Regions from separate parts of the Homo sapiens genome. Here region 1 is linked to region 2. The links are contacts of gene promoters, found by promoter capture Hi-C in human tissues and cell types (Jung and others, 2019). All regions are on one chromosome and are shown on one strand. The core of a region is centred on a gene start or on the middle of the fragment in contact, and the rest is flanking DNA. Distances in the headings are between cores, read along the strand shown. Region 1 overlaps LINC01768 (long intergenic non-protein coding RNA 1768). Region 2 holds the start of AHCYL1 (adenosylhomocysteinase like 1).

What was found. The method cuts DNA at HindIII sites, captures the fragments that hold promoters and counts their contacts. A contact is called where the count stands out against the background at its distance.
Region 1: a contact is called between a fragment that was not itself captured here and the fragment with the promoter of AHCYL1 in region 2, in 1 of the 25 tissues and cell types used here (aorta).

Annotation. Positions count from the first base shown.
Region 1 is chr1:109,836,109-109,841,465 of GRCh38, reverse strand. All of the region lies in intron 4 of LINC01768 (long intergenic non-protein coding RNA 1768), which reads right to left. Among named protein-coding and RNA genes, the nearest start is that of LINC01768, 11 kb to the right of the region's middle. The HindIII fragment of the contact is 3,920 bases long and covers 2,084-5,357 here.
Region 2 is chr1:109,980,792-109,986,268 of GRCh38, reverse strand. It overlaps AHCYL1 (adenosylhomocysteinase like 1), which reads right to left and starts at 1,504. Exons shown (of 17, transcript NM_006621.7): 1 at 1,097-1,504. The coding sequence starts at 1,216. RefSeq lists silencers at 959-1,028, 1,209-1,278. The HindIII fragment of the contact is 16,487 bases long and covers 1-5,477 here.

The sequences.
Region 1 (5,357 bases), core at 2,794-5,293, 150 kb after region 2:
ATGAATGGATACTTTTGCAAAATGCAATAAAACAATAAAAATGAATTACTAGGAAAAGGATCATGCTCATAGATATCATACTAATGTCAACTTACTGTAAGTGTCTAAAATGCTCTGTTTTTGTTTTTGTTTTGGTTTTGTTTTTGTTTTTTGAGATGGAGTCTTGCTCTGTCCCCCAGGCTGGAGGGCGGTGGCGCAATCTCGGCTCACTGCAAGCTCTGCCTCCCAGGTTCACTCCATTCTCCTGCCTCAGCCACCTGAGTAGCTGGGACTACAGGCACCCGCCACCAGGCCTGGCTAATTTTTTTGTATTTTTTTAGAAGAGACAGGGTTTCACCATGTTAGCCAGGATGGTCTCGATCTCCTGACCTCATGATCCACCCGCCTTGGCCTCCCAAAGTGCTGGGATTACAGGCGTGAGCCACCGCGCCTGGCCAAATACTCTGTTTTTAACAGCTTTATTGAGATATAATTCACATATAATTCACCCATTTAAAGTGTACAATTCAATGGTGTTTAGTACATTCACAGATCACCACAATCTATCTTAGAACACTTCGATCAATCCTAACAGAAACCTTCTACCCATTAGCAGGTAATACCCATTTCCCTCAGACTCCCATTACCCCAGCCCTAGGCAACCACTAAACTACTTTCTACCTCCATAAATGTGTCTATTCTGGACATTTCAGAAAAATGGAATCATACACCATGTGGTCTTTGGTGACTGGCTTCTTTCTTTAGCATAATGTTTCAAGGTTCATCAGTATGTGTCAGTATTTCATTTCTTTTTATTGCCAAATAATATTCTATTTTGTGGATATACCATATTTTGTTTATCCATCCATCAGTTGATGGACATTTGGGTTGTTTCCACTTTGGGGCTATTATAAATAACGCTGCTATGAGCATTCATGTACAAGCTGTTGGGTATACACCCAGGAATGGAATTGCTGGGTCATACGGAAACTCTATGTTTATCTTGTTGAAGAACTGCCAGACTGTTTTCCACAGCAGCTGCACCACTTCACATTCCCACCAGCAATGCATGAGGTTTCCAATTTCTCCACATCCTCACCAACACTTAAGATTATCTATCTTTTTTATCATAGCCACCCTAATGGGTGTGATGTGGTACTCCATTGTAGTGTTGATTTGCATTTCCCTAATGGCTAATGATGTCGACACTTTTTAATGTGCAAAACACTTTAATTTCTCTGACTTTCTGCACTCATCTCCTCCCTGGCTGGTGATAAGCAAGCAGTTCAGGGACCAAACTTCGAGTAGCACTGGCCTGGAAAATATGAGTGCATCACTTGGAGTGAGGTTAAGTGTTGTTTCTATGGAATTTTTGCTTCACCTAGATACATATGTTTATATATTCAGGACTGCGACATAAAATGTATTTGTATTGCTTACTGTTTGCAAACCCCTAGCCTGAAGATTTCCTGCCATTCATCCTCACCCAAAGTAGAACAGGTCATCCTTGAAGAGGGACATTGTCCTTCTAAACATGCCTATGGCAGAAACCAGTCTATGGCAAAGTGCCACTATCTCAGCCCTGGGAGAATCTGACTGGCAGCTCCAAAATATGAAGTTAATTTAAAAAGCGCTTAAGTCCCAAACCATTTTAATCAATAAAATAGTCTCCTTGTTTTGAACTCGGTAAAACATTTAAAATTTTTTCTTAATATTTTCATTGTGTAACCACCCAAAGTTGCTTTGCCTGCTGCCTAGACAGAGCCGATTCATCAAGACAGGTGAATTGCAATAGAGAAAGAGTAATTCACGCAGAGCCAGCTATGTGGGAGACCAGAGTTTTATTATTACTCAAATCAGTCTCCCTGAGCATTTGGGGAGCAGAGTTTTTAAAGATAACTAAGCCAGTGAGCCAGGAGTGCTGATTGGTCAGAGATGAAATCATAGGGAGTCGGACCTGTCTTCTTGCACTGAGTCAGTTCCTGGGTGGGAGTCACAAGATCAGATGAGCCAGTTTATTGATCTTAGTGGTGCCAGCTGATCCATTAAGTGCAGGGTCTGCAAAATATCTCAAGCTCTGATCTTGGAAGCTATTTAGGGAGGCTCAGAATCTTGTAGCCTCCAGCTGCATGACTCCTAAACCATAATTTCTAATCTTGCAGCTAATGTTAGTCCTACAAAGGCAATCTAGTTCCCATGCAAGAAGGAGGCCTGCTTTGGGAAAGGGCTGTTACCATCTTTGTTTAAACTATAAACTAAGTTTTTTCCCAAAGTTAGTTCAGTCTATGCCCAGCCTACAAGGACAGCTTGGAGGTTAGAAACAAGATGGAGTCAGTATACTTAGATCTCTTTCACTGTCTCAGTCATAATATTGCAAAGGCAGTTTCAATCCTTCCCTTTGGGTTTTATAATGCCCTCGTCTTACGATGTAGGCTATGAAGATGGGAAAAGGTTGTAAATCGCTCTGGCTTCTTCCTGCCAACAGAGGACGTAGTGGAAATGGGAGTGCATCCCAAGGTGAGAAGAGTTGAACTGCTTTGTAACTGTCTGAGTGACTCATGCAGGCCTGGCTGGGCTTTCATGGCAAAAACATTAGTACTCTCAACTATAGTTTTACTACAGTGTTTAAGTGAAACAGCCTATTATAAGGTAAATAATGAGTCCTAGGCTGAGGAGTACAATTCCCAATTTTAAAAACAAAGATTTGAAAGCATTAGTTTGAGGACTTCTAGCCCACAAAGAATTTGGAATTTAGTCTAAACTACAGAAAAAAACCTCAAGAATAGCTAACAACAGTGTACTATAGTTTTTCTTTTGAAGCATAAATTTTCTCTCTCCAGTCTTCATTTTTTTAAAAACAAATCATGATAGAACTGATTCGTTTACAAAATAAACTTTAGTCTTACTGTAATTGGCCTAATTATTTGTAAAAAGTACAGCAAGAATAATTATTTTTCATGTAGACTTTTTTAATTGGCTTTGATAGAACTCTGTTCCATGAAGAATCTCAGATAAGACTTTTTAAAAGCCAAGCCCAGCTGTGGGTTTGTACCGACAAATACCTATGAGTTGGGCAAATTCCTCTCCTCTTGAGGTCCCAAGACAACTTGGGGTTCCTGGGCCTGTTAGAAAGTGAAATTCCTTACTTACCACAGGTCAGGAACCTTGTACGGGGACACTGTGCAGACAAGGTATGAGGTCAGATTCCCCAACAGGCTTTAATTGGCTCTATAAGTCAACTTTGATTCTTTAAAGGAAGCATGCCATTCCATTCAAAACCTTGGTAAAATAATCAGTTTCTCCAACTGTGTTCTGTTACAGAAGAAAATAGCTTCTTATTGCACTTACACAATTAACTATACTGCCATAAATTGAGAATATTCACAAATAATTTCCAAATTCTGGAGAAATCAGGTAGAGAGGAACAAATATGCTCCAAATTTTGTTCTCAGGAGTATATCTTATTCATTTGTTAAAAGTTGCAAATACCTCTAAAGAAATAAGTTCCCTTGACTCTGGAAACAAAATGTTTAGCAATGTTTAACACATTAGCTCTCCATGACAGTCCTAGAAGTTTGGTTTTTTTCTCTATTCCAATAGCACAAATTTTAAAGCCCTATTAAAGCTACAATTGACTAGGAATTTTGATTACTTCTATGGCATACAATTTTACATAACAATATTATTATCAATGTACACTAAATTATATCAACATTGTAGAAGTTTCCCATAATTTTGGAATACATACTAATAATATATTTATACAAATACAGTCCAAAGTGAACCAAACACCCTTCACTCTTCTATTTGAAAGTTTTTCCTCTATTCAAATGTCACAATCTCCAGAGTTATTTATCAGAATCCTGCATTTAAGAGCACCTGTTACATTTTAAAACTGATTATAAAACCATCTTTTAAAGAGGACCAAAACGAGACAGCAATTATCTGTGGATGACAAAAACATTTTAGGGCAGCCACAGTTAAAGACACAATTGACAAGGAAATTTACCTTTGTAGCACACAGTCTGTTAACATAATAATTATAATTATTACAGATAACATAGACTAAGTCATATTAGAATTATAGGAGTTTTACATTACTTCAGAACATATACCAATAACACATTTACACAAATAGAGACCAAAGAAAGCCAAACACCATTTCATATTTGACAATGTCAGGCCTCTGAGCCCAAGCTAAGCCATCATATGCCCTGTGACCTGCACGTATACATCCAGATGGCCTGAAGCAACTGAAGATCCACAAAAGAAGTGAAAATAGCCTTAACTGATGACATTCCACCATTGTGATTTGTTTCTGCCCCACCCTAAGTGATCAACGTACTTTGTAATTTCCCCCACCTTAGGAAGGTTCTTTGTAATTCTCCCCACCCTTGAGAACTTACTTTGTGAGATCCACCCCCTGCCCGAAAAACATTGCTCCTAACTCCACCGCCTATCCCAAAACCTATAAGAACTAACGATAATCCCACCACCCTTCGCTGACTCTCTTTTCAGACTCAGACCGCCTGCGCCCAGGTGAAATAAACAGCCTTGTTGCTCACACAAAGCCTGTTTGGTGGTCTGTTCACATGGACGCATGAGACAGACAATGCTTCCTGTGTGATTTTTGTACCAAATAAGCCAAATGTCATTTTTGGACTTTAAAGAACCTAATATCTAAAATATTAGGTTAGAAAGAGACAGAATTTATAATTTGATATTGGAAAGCTTGTCAAATATCAAAGGTTTAAAACACAGGATATCACAAAATAGATCCCAGATCACCGTAAATCATTCATTTGGCCGAATTGATAACTCCAAAACAATTTTTAAAAAAGAAAAACCTTCACTCTGATAGAGAAGACTTAGCTTTCCAAACAAGACCCAATGAAGATAGCATGAGGCCAACTCAATCTGTCTCTTATCTCTCTCCTCTTTTTTTTCCCTGCCATTTACCCAAAGGAGAAAACAAAACCCTTTCATTATCTTTTAACATTACATAAAAATCATCTTCAAAAGAGAAAACCAAATTTCTTGTTTGCATTAGTGCATCTTTTAACGTTAAAGCTAGTTTTTTAGATAAAATTTTATATCTCTATCCAGTTTTAATTAGTTTCACCATAAGGCAAGATTTTCATAAACTTTTTAGAACCCTTTACAATTTTCCATCAAACAGCAGATCAATTTTCTAAGAAAACCCTGTTATTCGTACACATGGGCCCAGATTCTGGCCCCACATCAGTATGATTTTAATGTTTTAACCTATGGGGAAAAGCTAAATAATTTCTTTTAAATCTTAGCCAACTTGTTTATACCCACAGAAGTTTTACAAGATCAACCCTTTTCAAACCCTTTTCACTTTGCTTAAACCTTCA
Region 2 (5,477 bases), core at 255-2,754:
ATTCCTGCAGCCCTTGCTTTGTTCAGCCCTGCATCCCATTAAACACTGGATGCAGGCAGAGACAGCTTTGTAAGACTCTGTCTTTATAAAGAAGGGAGACATTTATCTGGGTTCTCACTGGCTTCAGGAAGGTCACCTCTTTGTAAAGGTTCTCTGGTCTACTGCTAACTGGGTGCCAGGTGTATGGAAAATCAAGATGTGGTTGGCAGTAAATGATGAGAAAGCAATAAGGATCCCAATTCCACCACTCGGAGAGCTAGTCAGACTAAAATCTCCAAAGGTTGCCATTTATGAGAGAATTCGAAGGGTGTCCTTTGAGTCAACCTACAGCACAATAGATCAAACTTGTTCTGCCTCAAAAGTACAGTCAAGAGTGAGCAATCTTCCCTTACCACCCACTACTCCAACCCACCCAAGCTCCTTTCTCCAGGGATGCCTAAGTGATCTATTCACATGACTCTAGGATCCACCTGTATCCATGACAGTGTCTGCTGTCACCAACCTCCAAATGTCAATTTCTTACATATTTCGAAGTAATTGGAATGCTGTAGAAAGTGAAAATCATAGATTTTCAGTTTCATGTTACCCTCATCGCTTTCACCTGTATATCAGAGCTAGCTTCACGCATTCTTTTCTCTTGCCTCCCAGCTATCACGCAGTTGTTGGATAAAGCGGCCACTGCTCCCAAAGATTTGATGGAAGTTCTGCCAGATTTACCCACTCACCTGAAGGGAGATTTTCTGTACACCCCATGCCCCCGGACTGGTCACAAGGGTCAGCTGAGTTGGTTCACCCCCTCCCACTCTCGTCTTCGAGGCCCTTCATCCAGGAAAAGTCAGTCGCAAATTTAAGGCCTGGCCCTGTCGGGTTTCAAAACGATCCCGGAGGACTTGGGCCGAGGGACAAAGGAAAGCGAGGTCAGAGGCGGCCTTTCAGCCCGGGAGAGGCCTGGGGCCGCACAGCCGCCACCCCCTACATCACCTCCGCCGTCCCCAGTCACCCCCAGAAGTCCCAAACTAGCCAGAGCCCGGGCTTGCTCGCGTCCCTTCCGCGAGGCCGGAGCCCGAGCCCCCGCCGCCACCCAGAGCCCCCGCACCTTCTTGGGCGCCTTGGTGACGGTGGCCATGAAGGAGTACTTCTCGGCGTCCTCGATCTCCTTGGCCTGCTTCAGCTCCTCCCCGACCCCGGGCAGCGGCATCGCGTCAGGCATCGACATTCCCCGGCCGGCCCGGCCAGCGGCTGACCCGCCGCCCCCGCCTCTTTCCCCCTCTGGCGCCCGCCCGCCTGCCCGCGCGGCGCCCTCCGACACGCGATCGCCCACCCTCCTGCCGGCCCCTGCGTCGAGCTGCGTCGGCTTCTGAGGTGCTGTGGCCCACGCCTTGTCTGTTCGGCAGCCCAAGGCAGCCGGACAGCGACGGCGGCCACAAGAGAACCAGAACAGCAGCTCCGAGCTCCGACCTGCCCGCGCCGCCACCTCCGCTGTACGCAAACACGCACGCAAAGCGAGGGTAGAGGGCGGTGACGCCACGTCAAGTACTGGCAGCTCCCGGGAGGGGGAAGAGGCGGGGAGAAAGGGCACTCTGTCGTGACGTCACCACGCTGGGCTGGGCCACAGAAGCCGTTCCTCTCCCGCTCGAGAGCGAAGTTCCCAGGGTGAGCAGGACCCTTTGTGCCACCAGGTGGCACCATCAGCCCTGGGAGCAGCGCGAGGTTCATGCAACGATGCTGCGGAACGGAGGGTCTTTGGGCTGCGGGGTTCCTGGCAAGGCCTCAGAGGCGCATGAAAGGGGTGTTTGGGAGCAAAGACCAGAGCCCCACACGACACATCCTACAGCGATTCCTAGGAAATGTCCGGGGCTCGAGACAGCCCACTCACTCACTGGCCCAGCCCCAGGCCCTTTGGATTAAAGCTCCTTCCCAAGGGGCCGTGCCTGTCTTTTTGACTTCATAGGGGGCAGAACTGACTCAGAGTAGTCTGGTTTCTGCACAACGCTTTGTGACTTCCTCCACCACCATCTCCGACTGGGCCTTGCCTGTTTACAAAACCCTCATTGGGATAGGGCTGATGGGTATGAGGGTGGAGACCAGGAGAGCTGATGGAGAAGTCCCCAGCCAGAATGGCCTTCCGGTCCTTGCTCCACCAAAGCATTAGACCCTTCCAGCTCTCAGTGGGCATCCAGGACATTCATGGACTGCTCACACCCTTTTACTGGGCCTACTATGTGCAGTGCCTGTGCTGAGGCCCTGCTGGCAAAAGGACATGTGACGCATTTTATGTTTTGCAAGGCTTAGTTCAGCTGGAGAGGCAAAACCTGCTTGTATCCTAATGTCAGCTGAGGTAGCTTGTCCTTTGAGATTCAAATGACATTGGCTCCAATTACCATGTCCTGTGGAAAGTCCATTACTGGGAGGACTTGGATTTTCATGGTCACCTCTGGCTCTAGTTTTTTTGCCTTGTCTGGCATTTTATTCACTATTCTGGTCTTGTGACTGTTTCTGTAGCTCCTGGGGTCAATTCAGCCGCTTCTCCTTTCAACCCCCACCCCATGCTAAACAACTACAAAATAAGGCTGTAACATGTAGTAAAACTTTTAATAAAGGTTTGTGGGTCACAGGGGAGAGATTACATCACACAGCAAACAATTTAAGAACACATTTCTGAAATGTTCTGAAAAGTTATTTTGGCTGTCTTACCACCCGGGGATTTCTCAATGGCCACAAGATCCCACCACGCTCCCTAGCCCATTGCCATCTAATCTAGCTTCCTCCTGTTCCTCCCTTCCCATCTCTGCACCTCATCCTTCCTTCCTTGATAGACTCTGGGAAGCCAGATTCTCCTCTGCTGTGCTGAGCAATTCCAGTCTTCCCAGTGCCCTTTCCCTAAATTCCTCCCCAGGACCACCTTTTTTTTTTTTTTGAGATGACGTCTCGCTCTGTTGCCCAAGCTGGAGTGCTCTCAGCTCACTGCAACCTCCGCCTGCCGGGTTCAAGTGATTCTCCTGCCTCAGCCTCCTGAGTGAGTAGCTGGGACTATAGGCGTGCGCCACCGTGCCCGGCTAATTTTTGTATTTTTAGTAGAGACGGGGTTTCACCATCTTGGCCAGGCTGGTCTCGGATCCTGACCTCGTGATCCACCTGCCTCGGCCTCCCAAAGTGCTGGGATTACAGGCGTGAGCCACCGCGCCTGGCCAGGACCACCTTTTAACATCCAGAAACCTCCCAGGTTTTTAACAGGGCATACCCTTTCAAGAAGGAAGTTTTGGTTTGAAATGGCATTTTCCCCACTGATTTGTGTTCAGGGCTGGGGAGAGTGTGAAATATTCACCTCTAGGGCCCTAAAAGTCTTAGTCAGGGAATCCTGTGTTCCAGCCACCTAGCCTCATGAGACTGTCTGTTTGAAAAGGGCTGTAGAAGTGCCTGGAAGAATGCACCCTTTGCACATCTGCAGACCTTGGTCTTGAACTGTTTGTATTCTTTCATCTGCTCACTTTTTTGAGCACTCACACTTCCCTGTCAGGGGCATCACTGTAGCAGAACGGGAACAGAGATGGAGACCAGAATACCAGGTTCATCCATGAGGGTGCCAGACTGACATCTTTCAGCTAGGGGTCAGGAACCACACCTGGTGCACTAAGGACTCTCTGAACATAAGGCTCACAGTGGCTTTCATCCTTGTGGGTTTGCCCAAACTGTTGGCAGAGCCCAGGGATCAGAGATGCCTGCCCAAAGACTCGAGGCAGAACCCATTGGAACCAGGGATGAAATCTCAAGTCCCTATAGTAGAAAAATGTGTGACTTAAGAAGATCTTTTTTTTTTTTTTTTTTTTTTTTTTAAAGAGAAGCATCAGTGTATCTGTCTTTTGGATTTGATTTTTAGAACTCACTTTGTCTAAACATGTTGTCTCTCAGTCCCCCAGTTCTGCTGTGCATTTAAGCATCCAGACTGTGAGCTTCCTGGAGATTGAAGTTCAGTCTTTACTCCTCCTGGACCAGGTCTGCCCTAGCACCAGGCTCACAGTGTTGTCTGCTATTGCTGCTGCTACAGAGGATGACAGACAGGGCCAGGCCTAGAGCATGCAGTACCTTAGCAGTCTGGGCTAAGAAGGAGATCAGCAGGTCAGACTCCACTCACCTGAGTGGCTGGCCTGAGGGGAGGTTGATGAGCTGATGTAGGAGAGTTCGGGGACTCAGACTGGAAAGGGGAAGGGCAGCACCCCCTACCCTGGTGGAAAGCATTAGGCCTATGTGGTTCAAGTGAGGCCAGGGGCCCGGGACATTCTTGGAAACCAGCCACTGCAGGGGGCATGGGTGGCTGCCATCCCTTCCATCACGTGTGTGCTGGAGAGCAAAGAGCTCACCCAGCCAGGGAGTGTGACAACATAACATCCGTGAGAATCATTGCATCCTGTCTCCCACCCCCAAAACCCATCCTAAGATAGCCTCACATGGCACAGCTAAGGCGATTGCTTCTCATGAATGCCAAGAGATGACTTGTCTTCAGCCTACCCACCCACCTGACTCAGCACCTCTACTGGCAAGCTCACTGCCCTGAACAGCGCATCCACACACAGGTGAGAGACCCCCCACGGGGCAATTGGAGAAGAACAGGGACCCAAAGACAGATGCACCTGCTGTGTGTGGTGGTGGGAAGTCTCCAAGGGCCTGGAGCGAAGACCCTTGCTAGAAAGGAGTGGCCTAAGGGCAGTGGTGAATTGGGAGATGCTGTCACCAGAAATGTAGTGGCATTGGGCTACCACACGTGGGCTTGGTCTTGTTAATCAGATTCACTGTTTGTCCACCCCCAAATTGATGTTCTACATTCAGTCATTTGTTCTTTTATTTATAAAATATATATTGAGTGCCGAAGAAGTGCCAGCAGCAGGGCTAGATGTCAGTCGGGACTACAGAGATAAATAAGCTGAGGTGCTGATCTCTACGTGGGGACAGGTGATGGGGGTGGGGTGCAGTGGAGGGCAAAGGGATGACACAGAGGGAGATGCTGCCAGAGCTGAGTCTTGACAGATAAGCAGCTGGGCAAGGGAGGGAAGATTCTCCAGGCTGAAGAAACAGCCTGAGAATAGGCATGGTGATGGAAACAGCTTGGCATATTACGGGAACTGTAAATATCCCCATGTGGGTGGGGCACAGGGTGCAAAGCAGGGTGAAGTGAGCGCTGAAGCCAGGGCCAGATCCTGCAGGGCGTGTTAAGCCCTGGGTGGGTGGTGGTGATGTCTGCCATGCTGGGGAGCACAGGAGGAGAAGCAAGTGTGGCTAGAGGGGTGGAGGGGGGCTGCTGAGAGGAGTCAGCTTGGGACATGTTGAGTTTGATATGTCTGTGGAGGGCACTGTCCCTGAGTCTCAGGGGAGCCCAGGTTGGCACCTTTTGGAACTGCCCGCTCCCTGCCAGTCAGGCTCCCCACCAGGGGGAGGCTGTGCTCCTCCTGAAGGCCTTTCACCTCCTGTCGGCCAGGTGTTAT